3 separate regions of the Homo sapiens genome follow, and all the other regions are linked to region 2. The links are contacts of gene promoters, found by promoter capture Hi-C in human tissues and cell types (Jung and others, 2019). All regions are on one chromosome and are shown on one strand. Each heading gives the region's core, a stretch centred on a gene start or on the middle of the fragment in contact. The rest is flanking DNA. Distances are from core to core; before and after follow the strand shown. Region 1 has its middle 74 kb from the start of LINC00485. Region 2 holds the start of NUP37 (nucleoporin 37). Region 3 overlaps LINC02456 (long intergenic non-protein coding RNA 2456).

What was found. The method cuts DNA at HindIII sites, captures the fragments that hold promoters and counts their contacts. A contact is called where the count stands out against the background at its distance.
Region 1: a fragment that was not itself captured here is called in contact with the fragment with the promoter of NUP37 in region 2 in 1 of the 25 tissues and cell types used here (lymphoblastoid cells).
Region 3: a contact is called between a fragment that was not itself captured here and the fragment with the promoter of NUP37 in region 2, in 1 of the 25 tissues and cell types used here (dorsolateral prefrontal cortex).

What each region holds. Positions count from the first base shown.
Region 1 is chr12:102,748,090-102,752,749 of GRCh38, reverse strand. No RefSeq gene overlaps it. Among named protein-coding and RNA genes, the nearest start is that of LINC00485, 74 kb to the left of the region's middle. The HindIII fragment of the contact is 3,013 bases long and covers 111-3,123 here.
Region 2 is chr12:102,117,634-102,121,867 of GRCh38, reverse strand. It overlaps NUP37 (nucleoporin 37), which reads left to right and starts at 1,754. Exons shown (of 10, transcript NM_024057.4): 1 at 1,754-1,818; 2 at 3,285-3,505. The coding sequence starts at 3,350. It overlaps PARPBP (PARP1 binding protein), which reads right to left and starts at 1,685. Exons shown (of 11, transcript NM_017915.5): 1 at 1,582-1,685. RefSeq lists enhancers at 282-839, 1,884-1,953. The HindIII fragment of the contact is 7,473 bases long and covers 1-4,234 here.
Region 3 is chr12:102,697,447-102,701,912 of GRCh38, reverse strand. The region is part of intron 12 of LINC02456 (long intergenic non-protein coding RNA 2456); the gene reads right to left. Among named protein-coding and RNA genes, the nearest start is that of LINC00485, 120 kb to the left of the region's middle. The HindIII fragment of the contact is 7,471 bases long and covers 1-4,466 here.

The DNA.
Region 1 (4,660 bases), core at 368-2,867, 630 kb before region 2:
TATTTTTAATGTACCCATGTACACGATGTTTATACAGCATTTCAAACAAAATCCAGTAGGCCTTAAACTGAATCTGAAAAAATGCAGAACCAATCTTCATACCCTTGTTTATGTGCCCCACCACCACCCAGCACTCTTCCCACCGTCTTTTGCCCTTTTAGAACTCTCTCATTCTGCAGGGCTGAGCTCCATCCCCTAACCAGGCCCCCTGCAACCTCCCGACCCCTACCAGCCAAGCCTTCTTTGATTACATCACCCCTCATTTATTGCCTGCTCTTTGCAATTTCTATAGCACTTTCAGTGTTTTTCAGACTTTTCTGAAGTACTTGTAAAATTACAAATTACTAGGCCCCATCCCGGGAGAGAGTCCTTGGAAGTGTTTTGGTTTACAAATACGCCAGGTGATTGTGATCATTGGGGATATCTGATGAATATCCAATGCCACAGAATTTAAGAGAAATAGATAAAAGTAGTCCCAAATTATGACCACCCCAGTTAAGAACTGGGTTCTTAATATGACTGGTTACTTACTCAGTTCCACCAAATATCCTCCTCCTGCCACTCTCACACCTTCCCTAGACCTAGCCCCAAGAACTGCAGAAGATGCAGATCCTAGAGACTTCACCTATGAACCAACCCATTGGAAAGTAAATAATGCAGCCTTGCTACTCAAAGTGTGGTCCCTGGACCGCAGCATCAGTACCACCTGGAAACTTGCTAAAAAGGCAGAACCTCGGGTCCATTCCAGATTTACTGAACCAGCATCTGAAGTTCATCAAGATCTCCAGGTGATTAATATCTATATTAACATTTGAGAAGCACTACTTTATTATGTGTTTGCAGAGAACTACTAGATGGTCTGGGGATCCCTGAGCAACATAGAAATGGCATGAGCTTTGGAATCAGACAGTCATTAGTTTGAATCTCAGTTGTGTGGCTGGCATGAGCTTCGGAATAAAATGGTCTTTAGTTTGAGTCCCAGCTGTGTGGCTGACAGGAAAGTTACTTAATTTCCATATCATCAAAAGTCATCGGCAAAATGGGGCTAATAATTTCTACCACATGGGGATGTCTTAAAAGTTAATGAGGTAACCTAAGTAAAGTACCTGCTTCACAATAGGTGCTCACTCACTGATGGCAATTTGCTTTACATAGTGCCTGGCACACGACAAGTGCTCAAAATGCTATTACAGCTGCTGGTCTCAGAGGAGGTGGTCTAGATATTATTGTTATTATTACTATTATTTTATTTTGAGACGGAGTCTTGCTATGTCACCCAGGCTGGAGTACAGCGGCATGATCTCAGCTCACTACAGCTCCCAGGTTCAAGTGACTCTCCTGCCTCAGCCTCCGGAGTAGCTGGGATTACAGGCACCGGCCACCACACCCAGCTAATTTTTTTTATTTTTATTTTTAGGAAAGACAGGGTTTTGCCATGTTGGCCAGGCTGGTCTTGAACTCCTGACCTCAAGCAATCCACCTGTCTCACCCTCCCAAAGTGCTGGGATTACAGGCATGAACCACTGCATGGCCGATAATATCATTATTATTAACCTGAAAGTGTTTACAATCTAGGAACAAAGTAAACACATAAAAAGTTGAAAAAAGATTATTATTACAAGAGACTCCATCCCCAAGTTGCAGGTCCTATAAGAATTAGGATTCTAAGAAAGTAAGCATTAAATATATTTCAGAGCAGAGCAACTAACATATCTAAGCCTTTAGTTTATGGTACGCATAGATTTAACTATCTTATTCCATACACCCAACTATAAATTAGACAGGTACTATTATGATTGCTCCCATTTTACCACTGAAACAATTGAACTTCACAAGGTTAAGTAACTTGTCCAAAGTCACTTGAATATTAAGTGGTGAAGCCAAGTCTCCAGAACACAGACCTTTTTTTTTTTTTTTTTTTTTTTTTTTTTTTTGTGGACAAGTTCTCACTCTGATGCCCAGGCTGGAGTGCAGTGGTGCCATCATGCTCACTGCAGCCTCAACTTCCTGGGCTCAGGTGATTCTCCTAACTCAGCCTTTGAGTAGCTGGGACTACAGGCACATGCCACCATGCTGGGCTAATTTTTGTATTTTTTTATAGAGGTGAGATCTCACTATGTTGCCCAGGCTGGTCTCAAACTCCTGGGCTTAAGTGATCCTCCTGCCTCAGCCTCCCAAAGTGCTGGGATCATAGGCATGAGCCACCGTGCCTGGCCAAAACACAAACTTGTAATGCTGAACAATTTTCTTCAAGTGATTCTTCAAAAGTGAGAGAAGCCACTATAGCTGGAGTGAGTTAGGAGACTTCTCTGAGGAGACTAGGATTCATCAGAGCAGTACAGACTGTATAGAATTTGACAGAGAGGTATTCAAGAGAGATACATTCTTATAACACTGGCAACATCTTGGATACAAGATTATGTCATAGTTCACAAAGTGCATTCACAAACTTTCATTCAGGGCTACGAAGATAGAATATAAATCATCCCTGTCTTGATGATCTTAACATCTATAGCTTTTAATTTATTCTTCAGCTACCAAAGGAGCTTGGTATTAGCTTCATTATGCAGATAAGAAAAAGAGAAGTTTAAGTGGCTCATGTATGATAATAGCAATAATAGGTGATGATCCTGGAAGCTGAACTCAGATCTCCAGAATCTAAGTCTAAGGTAATTTTATTATTTGCCCCTTTAGGAAAAGAGATAGATGCTAGGATAACCAACCGTCATGGTTTTTTCAGAATAGAAGATTTTCTCAGGATGCAGGACTTACAGGAAAGTCCTGGGTAAACCACGGCAAGCTGTCCACCCCAATGGAAGCTTAAGCCCCAAATGCATGCTTGAGAAACAACCCCTTTGGTTGAACCAAAGTGTTTATTGTGCTAAGGTAGAAATGCTGCTGTCACCAGTAAAAGATCCAGTACTCCACACTGTGTCCATTACCTACTCACTTCTTAGTTCTCAGCAATGCAGTGGCTACAGAACAGGCCTTCCTTCTTTGAGCACAGACTGCACTCCAAATTTTTATCTCTGTACTTACTTCTTCCCTCAGAACTTGCTGCTGCTATTGTGTGTGTGTGTGTGTGTGTGTGTGTGTGTGTGTGTGTGTATGTGTGTGTGTGTGTGTTGTGGTGTAGACCAGTGCTTCTCAACCTTTAATGTACATACAAATCATGTGGGGATCTTGTTAAAAAGCAGATTCTGATTCATTAGGGTTGAGTTAAAGTCCAAGACTCTGCATTTCCAATAAGCTCTCTGATGTGAAGGTTGCTGGCCATGGACTACACTTTGTAGAAGAAAGAACACCCGTTTTTGCAAAAGGAAACAGGAGCCCTTAGCCTTAAACAGCATTTAAATTGGTTGAATCCAAATAAATAGTTGATTTCCCTCTACCCTGAGACCTTCCCCTGGTGTCTGACAAGTACAAGCTTGCTCTCAAATAATCTGGATTAAAACCTACCACTGGCTAACTGGGTTACCTTAGGCAAATTATCTAATTTCTCTAAGATTCAGGTTCCCCACTGGTCAGGTCAGGTTGTTATTCTACTCACAGTCTTATTGTGAAGAATAAAGATAATGGCTACTGAGTATACACCACATTCCCAAATAAACACACATTATCTTTATTCTTCACGAAAAGACTGTGATCCGTTGATATGGTTTGGCTGTGTCCCCACCAAAATGTCACCTTGAATTGTAATAACTCCCATGTGTCAAGGATGGGGCCAGGTGGAGGTAATCGAATCATGGGGACAGTTTCCCTCATACTTTTCTTGTGGTAGTGAAAAAGTCTCATGAGACCTGATGCTTTTACAAATGGGAGTTCCCCTACACAAGTCCTCCTGCCTGCTGCCATGTAAGGCATGACTTTGCTACTCATTCACCTTCCACCATGATTGTGAGGCCTCCCAGCCATGTGGAACCATGAGTCAATTAAACATCTTTCCGTTGTAAATTACCCAGTCTCAGGTGTGTCTTTATTAACAGTGTGAGAACAGACTAACACATTCATGTTACTGTTAAAAGTTTCCCTTGCTGGAATGCTTATACACTGCTGGTGGGAAAGTAAATTAGGTCAGTCAATGTGGAAAGCAGTGTAGTGATTACTTGAAGAACTTAAAACAGAATTACCATTCTAACCAGAAATCCCATTATTGGGTGGATACCCAAAGGAATACAAATCATTCTAACATAAAAACACATGCATATGTATGTACATTGCAGCACTATTCAGTATAGTAAAGACATGTAATCAACCTAAATGCCCATCAACAGTAGACTGGATAAAGAAAATGTAGTATATACACACTGTGGAATACTCCGCGGCCATGAAAAATAATAAGATTGGCCTAGCGCAGTGGCTCACGCCTGTAATCCCAGCACTTTGGGAGGCCAAGGCAGGTAGATCATGAGGTCAGGAGTTCGAGACAAGCCTGGCCAACATGGTGAAAACCCCATCTCTACTAAAAATACAAAAATTAGCTGAGTGTGGTGGTGGGCGCCTGTAATCACAGTTACTTGGGAGGCTGAGGCAGGAGAATTGTTTGAACCCAGGAGGCAGAGGTTGCAGTGAGCCGAGATCACACCATTGCACTCCAGTCTGGGCGACAGGGTTAGACTCTGTCTCAAAATAATAATAATAATAATAATAATAATAAGAA
Region 2 (4,234 bases), core at 505-3,004:
AGTTGTTTTGAGTTAAAAGTAAAAGAGCATTGCCTGGGCATGGTGGTTCACACTTGTAATCCCAGCACTTTGGGAAGCCGAGGCTCACCTAAGGTTAGGAGTTCGAGACCAACCTGGCCAACATGGTGAAACCCTGTCTACTAAAAATTAGCTGGGTGTGGTGGTGTGTGCCTCTAACCCCAGCTACTTGGGAGGCTGAGACAGGAGAATCGCTTGAACCAGGGAGGCGGAAGTTGCAGTGAGCCAAGATAGCACTACTGCACTCCAGCCTAGGTGACAGAGTGAGACTCTGTCTTAAAAAAAAAAAAAAAAAAAAAAAAAAGAGCATTACTATGGTGACAGAAAACCAAGAGTCTCATTCAGGGATCAGCTAATTTTTTCTAAAGGAACAAACAGTAAATATTTGAGGCATGCACAACTACTCACTTTGACCTTCTAGTGTGAAAATAGCCATGGACATACATAAACAAACAAATGAGTATAGCTGTGCTCCAATAAAACTTTTTTTATGGACACTGAAATTTGAATTTCATGTAATTTTTACACATCACAAAACATTATTCTTTTCATTTTTTCCCCCAACCATATAAACACGTAACACTCCTTCTTAGCTCAGGAGCTGGCTGCACAAAAACAGGCAGCACAGCCAGTTTGCCAACCCCTGGTCTAGTCCCAGCTCTTCCTGTAGCTAGCTGGCTGTGGGAGCCTATGCCATAAGCCTTACACGTGGTTCCTAGGTGGAGGCATCATCACACAGAAATACTTGCCTTCCAGTCCCTTGTGAGAAGTCAATGAGACAATAAATATGCAAGCACTCTGAATGGCAGGCTGCACTATACAAAAAAACAGTAGCCAAAGGCAGCAGCGATAACACTTGTTTTTAAAAAATTGGATTCCAAGTTGCTCTAGAGCAAAAACTGTGAGACAGAAAATTGTCACTGGGCAGGCAGTGTGAAATGGTTGAAAGAACTACACTTCCGAGTCAGATATCACTTCCAGGCTCCCCCTTTATGACCTGTAGTCCTTCGGTATTTAAAATCTCTAATGAGCATAAGTTTCTTCACCTGCAAAACCAGGAAGGGAATTCCTACCTCACAGAATGAGACGTTAGTGAAACAAGTACATAACCCACCTAGTGCCAGGCATTTAGTAGGTGCTCAATTTAAAAATTGCACTCAACATCATTATCAGTGTTCGAGTGCAAGTCCCAAAGGTTCCTTGGGAGGCTGTAACTAATCAGGAGTAGGAGAAAGTTGAGGAATTGGAGTCCGTGTACATAGTGGGACTAGAACCCAGGTTTCCTGCCTAACTAATGGAAGTTAAGCAGGCCTCTACGGGCCTGTCTTCCAAGCTGCAGACGAACCCTCAGGACCTACCAGCTCCATCGCTAGATACTGTGAACTCCGCCTACAGCCCCCAGGCCCAACCAGGCTCGAGCGTCAAGTCACTGCACCATAATACTTCGGTCCCACGGCACTTTGCTACGACCGAGGTATTACAGTGCAAAACACCCTCAAAAGCCACAGCCTGAATCACCACTTAAAAATGCGACAGGGCAGGTAGGGCAGACGCGAGACTTACGTGATTAGGGGTAGACCCGAAGACGTACTCTTCAGTGTGCGGAAGGATCCCCAACGGGATGCCCTCCCGCGGCCGCCGCAGTCGCCGCTGTCGCCGCTGAATACAGTTCAAACCTCGCGGGAGGCCCCGGGAGCCAATCGCTGCGCTCGCCCTCCGACCCGGAAGCAGAGCCACAGCGCGTCGCGGCAGCCCCCAAGGAAGACCAGCCTGCCTCTGGTCGGTTCCTGGCGCTCTGCGGTGCGTATCGAGCTGGGAGCCCGAGAGGCCGGGATGCTTTTCTGCCGGCCGCCCAGCCTTGCCACTCTATTCCCAGGAGTTCTTCCTTCCCACTTCGGGCCCCGGGAGGTGGGAGCGGGGTCTTGAGGAACTCGCCTGGCCCGGGGAGAGGTGTCGGCGCTCATTGCAGAGACTTATCTTGTTCCCTCCCTTCTTCTCTGCCGTTGTAGTTTTACAGGGGCAAGTCCTGTCCAACGTGTACGGTGAGGCCCCGGCCACTGCTTTAATGAGCAGTAGGTGTAGGGACGGAACAATTTCGTGACCTCGAATCTCTTGCACTTCTATACCTCTCTGTCTCCGTGTCCATAACACTTGCTGGTCACCCTTCAAAAGTCTCCAGTCCCTGATGTCCATTCCTAAAGTTACTAGTTTATAAGCGTCTCGAGGTGGGACTCATTCTCAGTACATACTCTTAAGGTGCTTGATATGTTTGTTACTGAGTCCAGCTGTTTTCAGGACAACCCTTGTGTCGAATTTTTTAAAAAACCAAAAACTCTAAAACCCATAATTCTCATGTGGGAATGCTACTTCCAGAATGCACACTAGTCCCTGACAGGTTAAGGTCTTCTGCCTAGTTTTAAGAATATTATTATTTTAATTTTTAAGTTCCGGGATACGTGTGCGGGACGTGCAGGTTTATTACAAAGGTAAAACGTGTGCTATGGTGGTTTGCACACCCATCACCTAGGTATTAAGCTCCACATGCATTAGCTATTTATCCTGATGCTCTCCCTCCGCCCAACCCCCTGAACATTATTTTTATATCACACATTTTGGTACTCCTTAACAACAGATCCTGTATTTTCTATCTGTTTATATTATAGCCCTTTTCACGTTGAGTCATAACTATCCCTAAACTGTGGTCTCCTTCAAGCCAGGAGGCTGTTTTTTTCTTCATTAGCGCTGGTTCTCCACACACAATGAAGTCTTCCAAATCCTGGCCCTGCTTATGAGCTTGGCAAGTTAGTTAACCTACTGAAGCCTCAGTTTCTCCATCTACAAAATGGAGACCAGAGGTAGTACCTGCCTTTAGATTTGTACAGATACCAGATGTGATCATGTCAGTAAAATGCTTAATATGGTACCTACAAATAGTGGTTCATAAAAGTTATTAATTTTTATTAACATTTGCTGTTAAAATGATTCCATCTTCAGATGAAATACTATTTGTTTTAGATAATCTAAACAGAACTTTGCAGTGTTATTGTCTGCTAGAATCACAGATATGGGAAAGAGCTGTGGAGCAAATGTGGAACCATTAATAACTAGATTTAATATTTTTCCTGCAGTTTCTGTCCCTTGATAAGTACTTTAAATGTTTCTTTTGAGCTTTCTGTCTCATTGTAACACCACAACCTTATTTTGATGCATTTGCTGAATGACTAACATATTGACCATTGTAATTGTACCTGTGCTCTAATCCACAGTTTCGTGACCTTGTCCAGTAGAAGGCTATTTAATTTTCACAACTGCTTGAATTTTGACATACAAGATGAAGCAAGATGCCTCAAGAAATGCTGCCTACACTGTGGATTGTGAAGATTATGTGCATGTGGTAGAATTTAATCCCTTTGAGAATGGGGATTCAGGAAACCTAATTGCATATGGTGGCAATAATTATGTGGTCATTGGCACGTGTACGTTTCAGGTTAGTCTACAAAACTGCACCGAATGACAGTGAACATATTTCACTACTAAGAGAACTTACACAAACCAAATCTAAACTTTGAAAGTATATTGAGTTTGAATGTTAAAAAAAAAAAAGATAAGATCCATAGAGAAAGATGTTCCCAGTTATATGTGCCTGAGATTTATGTAAACATTATATAGATAGTGAAAAAGAATGGTATGAGGCTTCACTTTTGCCTCATGATCATTAATGGAATATTCTGATAAGTGAAGGCTATGATTAACTGAACATTGGTATGTACAGGAAAAAAACAATATAAATGAGATCCAATTAATTACGGTTTTTCTACATCCTGCTTTGACATACAAAACCAGCTAATGTTGAGAGCCCAAAAAACAATCTTCCAGGAGATTTTATAGCTTTTATAATATTCAGCTTTCCTATTAGTATGCTGTCATACTTTTTGTGCATCTAATGTATGCAGAATATGGAGTCATATTAATTGAGCAGGCAGTTAAGCATAGCCATTAAGAGCATGAATTCTAGAACTGGAATGCCTACATGTTTACTCCTGCTTTACTTACTTCTTACTAGCTATGAGACCTTGAATAAGATATTTAGCATCTCCTGTAAACATGAGGAAACTAATGCTTGAATTTTAGTATATGTAAATATACTAAATAAAAATTCCAAGAGGGCATCTGACAACATTGTAATCCATATGTATGTTTTAGTTGTCATTGATAC
Region 3 (4,466 bases), core at 578-3,077, 580 kb before region 2:
TCATTCACTATGTACTCAGATTTAATCCTGTGGGAGAAATAAACAAGTTATTGAGACATGGTCCATGTATCAAATAACCAAGTGATTTTTTTTGTTAGTTATTGAGGGTGTTTTTAAATATATATTTTTATTTAATTTGAAGATCCAACATTCAAGTAGCTGGCTGAGTTTAAAAAAAAAAAAAAAAGCTTTTCTTCTGGATGTGTAGGGTAATGAAAAAACTTGTGAAGGTCTAGAAGAGGCCCCTCTTAAAGTTCTATAGCCAATTATAGCACCTTCTGCTATTTGTCCTTCCCCAAATCCTCTCATGGGTGCAATGTAGGCAAAGAGGGTTGGGTGTTTAGAAAGAGTATAGGAGACTTTGTGCTTAGTGTCTCAAATGTCTCACTATTACAAAGCGTTGACCATTTTGGGTTTTGCTTATTTGTTTGTTTTTTTGTTTTAGAAGGAGTACAAATTTCATAATATCTTGTCCCAGGAGCTTCTGTGTAGATGACATTCAGATCTTTGTTTCCTATTTTCACTTAATTATTTCAATAAAAAGGCATAATCACTCTCAAAATGTTTTTTTAATTTTTATGGGTACATAATAGGTGTATATATTTATAGGGTACATGAGATGTTTTGATACAAGTGTGCAACACATAATAATTACATCATGGAAAATGGGGTATCTATCACTGCAAGCATTTATCCTTTGTGTTACAAAAAAATTCAATTATACTCCTTTGGTTATTTTTGAATGTACAATTAAATTATTATTGACTATAGTCACCCTGTTGTGCTATCAAATGCTAGATCTTATTCAATCTATATTTTGGACCCATTAACCATTCCCACCACCCCCTTAACAACCCACTTCCCTTCCCAGGACTTGGTAACCTTCCTTCTACTCTCTAACTCTGTTAGTTCAGTTGTTTTGATTTTTAGGTTCCACAAATGAGTGAGAACTTCTGACGTTTGTCTTTCTGTGCTTGGCTTATTTCACTTAACAGAATAGCCTCCAGTTCCATCCATGTTGTTGCAAATGACAGGATCTCATTCTTTTTATGGCTGAATAGTATGTAAGTATCACATTTCTTTATCCATTCATCTGTTGATGGACACGTAGGTTGCTTCCAAATCTTGGCTATTGTGAACAATGTTGCAACAAACACAGGAGTGCAAATATCTGTTTTACATACTAATTTCCTTTCTTTGAGGTATACACCCAGCAGTGGGATTGCTTGTACATATGGTATTTTTAGTTTTTTGAGGGACCTCCAAACTGTTCTCCATAGTGATTCTACCAATTTACATTCCCACCAACAGTGTATGAGGATTCCTTTTCTCCACATTCTTACTAGAATTTGTTATTGCCTGTCTTTTGGATTCAAGCCATTTTAACTGGGAAGAGATGATATCTCATTGTAGTTTTGATGAGCATTTCTCTGATAATCAATGATATTGAACACCTTTTTATATGCCTGTTTGCTATTTGTATGTCTTCTTTTGAGAAATATCTATTCAAATACTTTGCCCATTTTTTATCAGATTATTAGACTTTTTTCCTATAAATTGAGTTCCTTATATATTCTGGTTATTAATCCCTTGTCAGATGTAGAGTTTGCAAATGTTTTCTCCCATTCTTTTGGTTGTCTCTTCACTTTATTGACTGTTTCCTTTGCTGTGCAGAAGCAGTTTAACTTGGTGTGATTCCATTTGTCCATTTTTGCTTTGGTTGCCTGTGCTTGTAGGGCATTACTCAATAAATTTTTGCTCAGGCCAGTGCCCTAGAGAGTTTCTTCAATGTTTTCCTTTAGTAGTTTCATAGTTTGAGGTCATAGATTTAAATCTTTAATCCATCCTGATTTAATTTTTGTACATGGTGAGGGCTAGGGGTCTAGTTTCATTCTTCTGCATATGGATATCCAGTTTTCTCAGCACCATTTCTTGAAGAGCCTGTCTTTTCCCCAGTGTATGTTCTTTGCACCTTTGTTGAAATGAGTTCAGTAGGTGTGTGGCTTTGTTTCTCTATTCTGTTTCATTGGTCTCTGTGTCTGTTTTTATGTCAGTACCATACTATTTTTGTTACTATAACTCTGGAAGATAATTTGAAGTCAGGTAATGTAATTCCTCCAGTTTTGTTCTTTTTGCTTAGGATAGCTTAGGCTGTTCTGAGTCTTTTTTGGTTCCATATAAATTTTAGGATTTTTTTTTCTATTTCTATAAAGAATGTCATTGGTATTTTGATAGGAATTAATTGGTTTGGGTAGTATGAACATCTTCACAATAATCATTCTTCCAATCCATGAACATGGAGTATTTTTCCATTTTGGGGTTTCCTCTTCAATTTCTTTCATCAGTATTTTATAGTTTTCATTATAGAGATCTTTTCACTTTGGTTAAGTTGATTCCTAGGTATTTAATTTTATCTGTGCCTAATGTTAATGGGATACTTTTAAAATTTCTTTTCCAAGATTGTTCACTGTTGACATATAGAAATGCTACTAATTTTTGTATGTTGATTTTGTATCCTGCAACTTTACTAAATTTGTTTATCAGTTCTAATAGTTTTTTGTAGTCCCCACATTTCTCCAAATATAACATAATATCATCTGCAAACAAAGATAAATTGAGTTCTTCTTTTCTAATTTGGATGCCCTTTATTTATTTCTCGTCTGATTGTTCCAGCTAGGACTTCCAGTACTGTGTTGAATAACAGTGGTGAAACTGGGCATTCTTGTTGTGTTCCAGATCTTACAGGAAAGCCTTTCAGGTTTTCCCCACTCAGTATGATACTAGCTGTGGGTGTATCATATATGCCTTTTATTATGTTGAAGTATATTCCTTCTATACCTAATTTTTTTGAGGGTTTTTATCATGAAGGGAGGTTAATTGTATCAAATGCTTTTTCAGCATCAATTGAAATGATCATATGGTTTTTGTCCTTCATTCTATTGGTAAGATGTATCACACTGATTGATTTGCATATGTGGAACCATCCTTGCATCCCAGGGATAAATCCCACTTGGTCATAATGAATGATCTTTTTAATGTATTGTTGAATTAGTTTGCTGGTATTTTGTTGAGGATTTTTGTATCAATATTCATCATAGATACTGGCCTGCAGGTTTCTTTTTTTCGATGTGTCTTTGTCTGGTTTTGGCATCAGGGTAATACTGGCCTCACAGAATGAGTTTGGAAGTATTCCCTCCTTCTCTATTTTTTGGAATAGTTTGAGTAGGATTGGTATTAGTTCTTCTTTAAATGTTTGGTAGAATTCAGCAGTGAAGGCCTTGGGTCCTGGGCTTTTCTTTATGGGAGACTTTTCATTATGGCTTAGGTCTCATTACTTGTTATTGGTCTGTTCAGGTTTTTTTATTTCTTCATGGTTCAATGTTGGTAGGTTATATGTGTCTAGGAATCTGTCCATTTCTTCCAGATTTTCCAATTTGTTGGCACATAGTTGCTCATTGCTACTGATGATCCTTTGAGTTTCTGCAGTATTCATTGTAATGTCTCCTCTTTCATCTCTGAATTTATTTATCTGGATGTTCTCTCTTTTTTTCTTAATTAGTCTGGCTAAAGGTTTGTCAATTTTGTTTAACCTTTCAAAAACACAACTTTTTGTTTCATTGATCTTCTGTGTTGTTTCCATTTCAATTTTATTTGTTTCTGCTATGATCTTTACTATTTGTTTTATTCTAAACAACACAAGATTAGGTTTGGTTTACTCTTCCTTTTCTAGTTCCTTAAGATGAATTGTTAGTTTTTTTTTATTATTATTTGAAGTTTTTCTTCTTTTTTCATGTAGGCACTTATAGCTCTAAACTTCCCTCTTAGTACTGCTTTTGCTGTCTCCCATAGGTTTTTGTATGTTGTGTTTTGATTATTTGTTTCAAGGAATTTTTCAATTTCTTTTTTAATTTCTTCATTGACCCACTGGTCATTCAGGAGCATATAGTTTATGCTTGTATTTGTATCGTTTCCAAAATTCTTCTCGTTATTAATTTCTGGTTTTGTTTCATTGTCATCAGAGAAATGCTTGATATTATTTTAATTTTTTGAATAATTTAAGAATTGTTTTGTGACTCAACATGTGGGCTATCCTTGAGAATGATTTAAGTGTTAGGAAAAGAATATATATTCTGCAGCCATTGGATGAAATGTTCTGTAAATATCTATTAGATTCATTTGGTCTATGGCACAGATTAAGTCTGATATTTCTTTGTTGATTTTCTGTCTGGAAAATCTATCCAATACTAAAAGTAGGGTGTTAAAGTCTCCAGCTATTATTGTATTGGGGTCTGTCTCTCTCTAATAATATTTGCTTTATATATCTGGATGCTCCAGTGTTGGGTGTATATACATTTAAAATTGTTATATCCTTTTGCTGAATTGACCCCTTTATCACCACATAGTTTCCTGTTACCTCAGTTGTTGTCTTGAAATCTATTCTGTCTGATATAAGTATAGCTATTCCT